Regions from separate parts of the Homo sapiens genome. Here region 2 is linked to region 1. Evidence: promoter capture Hi-C in 16 types of primary human blood cells and fetal thymus (Javierre and others, 2016). All regions are on one chromosome and are shown on one strand. Each heading gives the region's core, a stretch centred on a gene start or on the middle of the fragment in contact. The rest is flanking DNA. Distances are from core to core; before and after follow the strand shown. Region 1 holds the start of PWWP3B (PWWP domain containing 3B). Region 2 holds the start of SERPINA7 (serpin family A member 7).

What was found. Contacts are between HindIII fragments. The CHiCAGO score rates a contact against its expected background, and 5 or more counts as called.
Region 2: a contact is called between the fragment with the promoter of SERPINA7 here and the fragment with the promoter of PWWP3B in region 1, in 2 of 17 cell types (total CD8 T cells and endothelial precursors). The highest score is 5.9, in total CD8 T cells.

Annotation. Positions count from the first base shown.
Region 1 is chrX:106,165,997-106,170,696 of GRCh38, forward strand. It overlaps PWWP3B (PWWP domain containing 3B), which reads left to right and starts at 2,309. Exons shown (of 4, transcript NM_001171020.2): 1 at 2,309-2,429. The HindIII fragment of the contact is 1,861 bases long and covers 501-2,361 here.
Region 2 is chrX:106,036,315-106,041,407 of GRCh38, forward strand. SERPINA7 (serpin family A member 7) reads right to left here and starts at 2,413. Exons shown (of 5, transcript NM_000354.6): 1 at 2,384-2,413; 2 at 123-761. The coding sequence starts at 744. The HindIII fragment of the contact is 3,176 bases long and covers 1,884-5,059 here.

The DNA of each region.
Region 1 (4,700 bases), core at 1,059-3,558:
TCTTTGGGTATATATCCAGTAATGGGATGGCTGGGTCAAATGGTATTTCTAGTTCTAGACCCCTGAGCAATCGCCACACTGACTTCCACAATGGTTGAACTAGTTTACAGTCCCACCAACAGTGTAAAAGTGTTCCTATTTCTCCACATCCTCTCCAGCACCTGTTGTTTCCTGACTTTTTAATGATTGCCATTCTAAGTGGTGCAACCACTGGTTTTTTAGAGCACTTTTTAATACCAAAGAAAATAAAACTGATGTCAACAATAATAAAAAAGCGACACTTTAGAGTAGAGTCTTTTCATTCTGGATAGCAATGTTTCTCAAGGTCTTGTGACTTTATAGAACACAGTTTATCAGTTCTCTGTTCTTGATGTTGTTATATTTCAATAAACTATTATTCTTAGTATTATGTCCTTGTTACACATTAGCAGAATTTGTCCCACAATTTTGCAGAATGTTTCATGAACAGAAGCGGTTTTTATAGAGCTGCAATACTGAGAAGCTTTGAGCTTTGAAATTATATCAGAGCTTTTGAGATAACTTGCTATTAGAAATCACATGAATAAACAAGTGGGACTACATCAAACTAAAGTTTCTGCACAACAAAGAAAATAATCAACAGAATGAAAAGGTAACCCATGGAATGGGAGAAAATATTTGCAAACCATGCATCCAATAAGGAGTCAATATCCACAATTAGAAACTTATAAAATTAATACCCACAATAAGAAACTTATAAAACTCAATGTCAAGAAAAAACTAGCAAGTAACCTGATTTTAAAAATGAGTAAAAGACACTGGGTAGTTATTTTTTCCAATGAAAATGTGCAAATGGTCAAAAGGTACATGAAAAGGTGACTGTAGTTAATAATATGTAATGTATATTTGAAATTTGCTAAGAAGGTAGATCTAAAGCGTTCTCATCTCACACGAAATGGTAACTATGTGAGGTGATGGATATGTTACCTGGCTTGATTGTGGTAATCATTTCACAGTGTACACATATATCAAATCATCACATTACCCATCTTGAATATATATAATTTTTGTCAATTGTACAAAAAAATCACATTCCAAGACCAAAATAAACAGACATTAATCTGGGAGAGATCAAAGTACTTTGTAGGTAAAAGAGCCTCAGGAGGAGGCACTGACCACCAGTTCCTTTTACTTCTATAAGAGCTAATCAAATTTTTCTTACTTGCCCAATAATGTATTTCTATCCATTTTTGCATTATTATACATTTTGAGGTAATCTCGTGGGTACAAAAAGTTTACAATTGTCATATCTTAAAAATAATGAAGAAAATGTGGTAAAAATAAGTTGAATAGCAGATGAAACCAAAATTGTCAGCTTTATTAAGAGGGGAAGATAAATTGCAGGACTTTGCTTGTGAGAGTGAAATGAGACTAACAGAACTCCAGACTTAAGGAAACCTATCCATCAGCCTAGAAGCATATTTCTCTAGTCTAGAAGACGCAGAGAGCCTTCAAGTTACACTGCTTTGAGATTTCTTCACAGTGAAGTGAATATCAGGAATAGGGAAGGACGTTGGGAATTCTCTGCTTGTGTTCTTTGCCCCTTTCTCTACTTTGTTGTTCATTTCTTTCTTATTGAAATGAAAGAACTAGCTTGGGTATATTTTTGTTTATCTAATCATATGGACAAACAAAAGCACTTGAAAAGCACTCCTAAGTTTGCGGCTGATTTTTTAACTTGGCCTATGGTGATTTTACGCTTAATACATTTTTTTTTTCAATTTCAGTATAATCAGATTTTGTCTGAGGATTTTTCTTTGGAAATGACCTAAGGAAAGAAGTATAAGAAACTTGAATAAAAGGAGAGATATATTATGTCCCAGGTTCAGATTCAAAATTGTAAAGAATTAATTCTACCTAAAATAAAGTATTAATTCACTGTAATCCAAATCAAAATACTTAGCGTATGTTTTTTTGTGAAGTTTGGCCAGTAGGTCTTAAATTTACCAGAAATAAAGTACAAAAGAGGATCAGAAAAAATATATGTAAGGAACGTTTTAACCACATCTTTATTATATGAAAAAGAGATTTGCTGTTGCTTCTCTTTTTCCATTAAAACACCTATCCTAGGGGGTTGAATGGAAATTGAACAGACATAGGTTACCATTACACTTTAAAGTACTTTAAGAGGAACATTTCTTCCCTTTAACTGTATTTCGGTTTAAGTTGGTCATTTTTCTCCTAAGCGAAGGAAGAACCTCGTGCTTTCCCCATCACGGAGAGGGGGCGGAGCATCCTCTAGGAGCTTGGAAGAAAGCTGCGCCCAGCCAGTCTTCGGGGAGGAGCTGCATTACACACAGGCTTCGGAGGCTTCCGTGGAGAAGCTTGGAGGTAATGGCTGTCGTAAATGCTAGTTATTTTCAGAGAGTTCTCGAAGATTTGGAATAAAGGTGAGAAAAGAAGAGAGTGCTGCTTAGGAATAACGGGAAAGGAGTGTCGTTCTGTGAGGGTCGTTGTTTCTGTGAGGGAATTAATATCTGTGTTTTGTGTTCCTTCAGATTATTTTAAAAGTCCACAGTCGGGGAGGTGGTAATCAACATTACACCTGTGGAAAAATATTCTTAAAGAGGTAGCAAAAGCTAACTTTTTAATAGAGCATTTTATGTTTCCATCAAAAGGCAGTGGTGGCTGAGATAAATGATGAAACAAAACTTGGGAGTTTAATCTTCCTTATTTTGAAAAAGGTTGTAATAGTCTTAAATGAAAAATTAAGTTGTTGGGGATGTTGGTTTTTTATATTACTTTGAATGTGTTGTGTTTCTAACAAATCTTACTGTTTTGGTGGAGTATGTTAGTAATTTAAAGTAATGCATAACTGTGCAAATTCGAGTATCTCTGAGAATTAGTTTGGTTATTTGTCAAGGGATACACAATGACTTAATATAATAGCTTTTTAAATAATGTGCAAAATATGATCTTTGTCTGTACTTCTACCTATCTCTCAAGAGAATTGTACATTCCTATTTGTACTGCAATGGAAAAAATCTAAAAGATCATAACAATAACAGACGTGCATTAGTATAATAAAACACAACAAACAATATACTTAGTAATAAAGGATGCCTGATAAAAAAGGATGTCAGGGGAAAAAGGAGGAAATTTTCCACTTCTTTCTTCCACATTTTACTTAGCATGTAGTTTCTATGTCGGCATAGAAACTGAGATGAGAACTTAAAATCATGGGGAAAAGCTACTTTCCCCAAAATAGCGTAAACTCATATATAAACAGGGAAAGGTGTTCAAATATGTGGCTAAATAAATGTAATTTTAAATAGTATATTCAAACATGTATGTGATGAGGAAAAAAATAAAAAGGATTAGACATCAAATGTATGCCGTGAACAACTCAGGGTTTGAGTACTGATGATGTGTATTTTCATCTTTAGATTTTTATGTACTTTTAGATTCTTTTGGAAACGATAATGGAGCTGAAAAGGGAATAATCACTTTTGTTACAGACACTTGAGCAAATAGCCACACACACATTCCATTGTCTTTAGCTGCAGTAGGATTTTTCTATGGGTCTGAGAAGGCTCATTACCTGATTGCTTGTGCTTTTCTTGCAATTCAACTATTGAGGCTATAGTCCAGACTCTGGTTCAAGCAGAACATATTTATCTTTATACTCCTGAGGAATAATTCGTAAAATGTTTTAAACATATTATGACATAGTCATATAGGATAGTATATCTATAATGTTGAATACTACGCAGCTGTAAAAGGAATGAGTTAACTCTAAATGCAATGATTAGAGTAAATGTCCAAGGTAGTTTCTAAAAATAAGCAAATTGAAGAATGGCCTGTATCATGTAATCCTATTTGTTTACCAAAAAGAATGTGCATGCATTCGTACAGTGTATGCAATAAAAACCTGGAAATATACATGCTACTTTATTAATTGGAGAAATCTGGAAATAATACATGCCACTTTATTAATTGGAGATATAAGTGTTCTTATATCTCCACACATATCTCCAATTAATAGACAGAATATTTTAACCTTCTATGTATTACATTTCCCCATTTTAAAAATTTCATTTTGAAAAGAGCAAGCCTGAATAATTTTCATCATGAGAAAAACATAAAATTTTAGAAATGTGGAAAAAATTTTGTAAAGCAATTCACAAAAAGATGATATGGAAAATAATTATTGATATGGAAAGATGTTCAAATATATTACTGGAGGAATAAAGGGTCTAGTTTCAAAAAGCTTCCACATTGGTAAGTCTCTACAGAAAAAAATCTAGAAATATACAGAGCAAACCATTACATTTTGACCATTGTTGTGGAGATTTCCTTTCTTCTTTGGAAATCCAAAAGATGTAGAAAGATATATACAATTTGCATGAGAGATATTATGATGAAAAATATTAAAATGAGAACATTATGATCCCATTTTTGTATAACACATGCACAGAACTCTTAAACTGAGAATGAAAAATTCTAGAAGCCTGAGTGTCTGCAGTTCTGGTTCTGGTCACAAGATGGTGCTTGCCAGGTTTACTAAGCTTTGTCCAGGCAAATATTTTTATGAAGTGGACAAAGCAATGAAATATGTTTTGTATTAGCCGACTATGAGACAGCATGTAGAGTGTGATTGAAATTCCATTCAAAATATTATAAATATCTAGAAGAAAAATCCCCACCAATAACTGACATGA
Region 2 (5,093 bases), core at 1,163-3,662, 130 kb before region 1:
AGCAGATCACTGTGGTATGAGGGACACCTACTGATGCCAGTAATAAGAGACCATGAGCTCCCCTCAGCACTCCACCCAAGTATCTGAGCCCTAGACTGAAAATTGACATCTGAAAGTCTTACCTTTAAAGTGAATATAGTTCACTAAGACCATGATGGTGTTTGGCTTGAGGTCTTGAATTAGACCCACAACTTTCCCTTTGGTTTGCATCTCCACATGACTGTTAATCTCCTGCTTGGCTGCAGAAATGTTGGAGAAGTCGGTAGAAAAGACTTCAGTCTCATAGAGGGTCTTGACATCATTCAAGAACTTTGCCAGTGGTTTCAGATGCTTGCCAATGAAGAGGGCATTTCCTATCTGCAATTCCAGTTCCTTCTTTGGAAAATTCAGTGAACAGATCAGATGCTGGAAGCCATGCTGGATCTCTACCATTGGAGTGTCTGTGAGGTTGAACCCCAAGGTCTCCACAATCTCAGTTTGGGTGCTGCAGCAGGCCCCAAAGGAAAGCATAACCAAAGCTGCAGAAATGCTCACAGGGGAAAAGAAGATGTTCTTATCTGGGGTCTCCACAGTGAACCTCCGGTACAGATTGAATGCAAAGTCAGCATTAATGGATGACATCTTGTAGAGAGTGGCATTTGGTTGGGATGAATGGCAGGCTGTTACTTTGCCTTCAGGTGATGCACAGTGGATTGTAGCATGAAGCCCAAGTACCAAGAGAACCAGATACAGGAATGGTGACATTTTGGAAGGAAGTTAATCTATAAGAGATGAAGTGAGACAACCACTGAGGGAGCTTAGTTGGATGAAACACTCCCTGAGCCAGAGACACATAATAACCACCCACATTGATTAATAAAACAATAGTAAATATTTGATGATGTGCTCATCAGGGGCTGAGCAGGGGTTTCTCTCCCTTGAAAAACAGGAGATGCATCTAATATGGACAGGGAGTAGGAGAAGTGGCTTGCTGCAACCACGGAAATAATGCCATGGACTGTCATTCAGATGTTATAGCAACATTATGAAAACGCTGTGAGTAAATTAAATTTATGGAAATTGAATCACTTTTTTTCTGAACTAGAGGCAGCCTTTTGGAGAGAGGGGATATTCTTAGGTTAAACTAGTACTCCCTCTGTATACATTATTCATTGTAGATTAGAATTTTAGATTTTTTTTTTCATCTGGCATTTTCTTAAGATAAAATCTATGAGATGAGAGAACACTCGCATCTTATTTGGCTAAAAGACAAAATGAAAGTAATTTGTACAATATATGATTAGTTGGAATGGATGGGTGGTGGTTTATGGAGCCACGTACAAGGTCATGAGCTGAAATTCATGCATTTTGCAATGCATGGAAGCCATAGAGGTATTTTCGAACAACCAGAAAATGAAAGAATAATTTTCTAAATTTTACATTTCTTTCACCATTAATCTTAGTAACATCTAAACAGTCATTTCTAAGTTGTAAGACATCTTAACACTATTATTCTTACACCTATGCATGTTACTTTTAATTATTATAAAGAAAGCCAGAAAGATAAGGTGTAAGGTTCTCTGATCCTGAAAGAGTGCAAAGAAATGGAGTAAAGAAGTCAGGTGTGGAAATCCAATGAAAGTGGACATGTGTGCTTAGAAGGAAGAGGTCTATGAACTCAGAAAAAGGATCCTTCCTCCACCCTCCATCTTCTTCCTGAGTGATCTTACCCTCCGCACTCAATTGCTAGAAACTGTATCTCTCTCAGATTGCTCTCCTGAGCTCCTAGCCATTTATCCAGCTTTCTTTTGGATATAACCACCAGGATGGTCCACACAGACCTCAGTCTCAATAAGAAAATCTCAAAGTTGCCAGATGTAAACATATCATCTCCCTACACCTTAAGCTTGCTCCCTCATCTTCATTCCACATCTCAGTTTATCACATCACTGTCTATAGAGACACCTAAGCCAGATACCTGGGAATAATCATAGCCTCCTTTTATTCTCATTCCCCATATCTAATGAAGCATGATGTCTTATGAATACTAACTCTTAAATAACTCTCAAAACTTCTCCCTTCTCTTCATTCCTGCTGCCTCTGCCTCTCAGTTCATGGCCTGAGCTACTATATCAGCTCCTAACAGATCACACCATCTCCTATATCCTCCATACCAACCCCCTTTGTTCACCACTCTATCCAATCTCCATATCATCATCAGAGTCCTCTTTCTTTAAAAGTCACTGAGGCTGGTAGAAAGTCAATTATTAGATGACCACACTTAGACCTTCACCCCTAGAGCCAGGAATTTGGTTTGGGACTCTGACTTGCCAACTTGGTTATTTGGGACTCTGACTTGCTGATAGAGATGTTCAAAGTTTCCAAAGAGAAAAAAAGTACTTACAGCAAATGCCCAAGAATCCACCTGCATCTCTCAGAAAGCAACATCTTTCCATTTTTATAGCATGTCCTGTATTGCAAAACTAGAGCACTCTTAGTTATAAATTAACCCCAGCATTAACCCTGGGATGGTATTTTCAAAGCTGATGTACAAAACCAAGGCCAAGAGGAACAAAGCAAAAAATGATAAGGTTTGAACTTTGAGTGATTGCTTTGGCTGCCAGACCCTTCATGTAAAACAAAAGAGAAAGAGGATTGTCAGAGCTGGAGGGGTTTAAGTCCATGCTGGCAAGAGTGTCTTCAGCAGGCAGAATAGGGGCCATAGGCAAAAGCACCAAGAGGCAGCAGGAAAAAGTTCTCACTATTGGGCCAAACAGCAGTGGAATTGGCAGTTTTTTAAGGGAAAGTTGTACAAAAGCAGAGGCTGGGTGATCCTTTCTAATAGGTTCTGTAGAAATTATACATGCATTCGCAGAGGAAATGATGTCAAAGGTAGCTTCCAGCCCTAGACTTCTGATGCTGCAAACATATATGTCTGCTAAGGGGGAAACCAGCCCTGTCTTCTCGTCATTAAAATTCCCTGTACCGTCCCCTGGCCACAGGACTCCAAAAGAGGATGCAGAAGGAGTCAAGGAGACTGAAATTAAAGATTCCACTGTCCAGTATTAATTGTGTACTGATTATATGCAAAGAAGCAATGGGAACAAAAAGAACTGGACTCAGTCAGGAGACTTGAGTTCAACCTGCTTCTGAAAGTTTCCAGCTCTAGTAGTAGTAGTAGTAGCAGTAGTAGCAGTAGCAGTAGCAGCAACAGCAACTCCTGCTTCTGAGTATTTACTACAGGCATGTGAAGCATTTTACTACAGACATTTTGTGAAGCATCAGATTCCAGACCCTGCCAGCTTCAGTACTACATTAAGAATCTATGTGTTAATTTGTAGTGGGAGGGGAGGCAGGGAATGAGGAGCTAGTTCGAACTAAGCCTAGATGCAGTCTATGGTAGGACTTATAATCCAGGACAAATAGTACTGACTTTACCTTGAGGGCACTGGGAAGCCACTGGGGGATAGACAGAGGGTGACTCTGTGTACCATTATTTCTTCTTAACAAAACATAGACTAAGCTCCCACTGTGTGGAAAGAACCACAGTCAGCACTGAGGTTTCAGAGCTGGTTGGTAAATATCAGTCCTGAACCCAAGAGGTCTTTCTAACTACCTGACACCCGCTGCCCATATTGAAGAAGGCACACCTCACAAATGTGATGGTCACTAGTACATGTGTCCTAAAGAAAGGGAGTGACAAGCTCAAGTCTCTAGACTGCGAGGTTAGTCCATGTAATATAACACATTGCTCTCTCAGCTACAGCAAGTCCCTGCAGAGAAAACAGCAAAAGACTGTGTAAAAAGAAAACTTCCAAACCTGTGCCCTCTGGTGGCATAGTCAGACAATGGCACAGGTTGTTTTCTGCTGCTTCTGATTCAGCTGAGCTTTGCTAGCAGGGCTTATCTCCGACATAAGAGAAAGGTACCCTTCCCTCTGCAGACTCCCTTGCCCTGTGCTCTGGCATCACAGGCATTAGACCTGTGCCCCTGCCATGTCTCTATGTTGTAACTGTGTAATTTGGGACAAGTTACCTAGTATCCTTGAACCTCAGTTTTCTCACCTCTAAAGTGGAAATAATAATGATTCCCATGTCATGTGGTTATTGAGAGTATAAAATGAAATTTAGAGGTGGTGTCCAGAAGCTCCTATAATAGTGCCCCGTACAAAGTGGGGATCCAGAAACAGATAATTCTCTTCCCTTTCTTCTGTTATCATATATTCCCTCACCTCAAGTCTCCATATTCCCTGGGCTTTATCTCTACCCCCTACTGCTGTTCATTTCTGCTTTCTGCTAATACATTCTCCTTCAGATGCAATTGATTGAGAAGGTGTAAGATCTTGCAAACTTATATTTATCACAATAATTTCAGTCTTGTGTAAAGCTGCTAGAGTAGCACATTGAATAAAGACTCTCTAGGAAGTTTTACCATATCAATAAATTCAATCAGATCTAAAATTATATATCTCCTTTTTTGAATGAACACCCTCATAATTATTCCCACACAAATTTTATTTTAGAAATGTTCAACGTTCCACAGTTCTTTCAGTTTGTAAACACTTTTCTCATTGTTTTGATATTTGATCCTCCACCCTAGTCTGGAGAGAAATGATGGGATCTTACTCTGCTTACAGGTCTGGAGACAACAATAGTTGTGAGATGGTGGCATTAGGAAAATTGGCTTCTTTTTGCAATTTAAGTCTCACGGGCAAGGAAATTACCGGGTGTGTAAGCAAAGGAGAAACAGCTGCATTGGACAAAGAGAAAGACTGCTTTTGCTGGCAAGAGAGGCTCAGTGGGGATTTGGAGTTGAGGTTCTTTTAACTCTCTCAACTGTCCTATTCTTGAATTTTTACTCTTTGCATTTCAGTGACTAATTTCGACAAAACCGACATCAATGTTGAGAAATCAACAAATTCTGTAATTTGGTAATACACAGGATCAAATGGCAAGCATAGGATTTGGCTAACTTAGCTCTCCAGAAATTATATTTACATGTTCCCTGTCTTCCATATATTCCTGGAGCACTTGAGCCAAGAAATTAGGCTTCTGAGCAAGAATTTAGGCTTCTTTTTTAAAGCTTTCTAGTGCCATCATAAGCATCCACTTCAC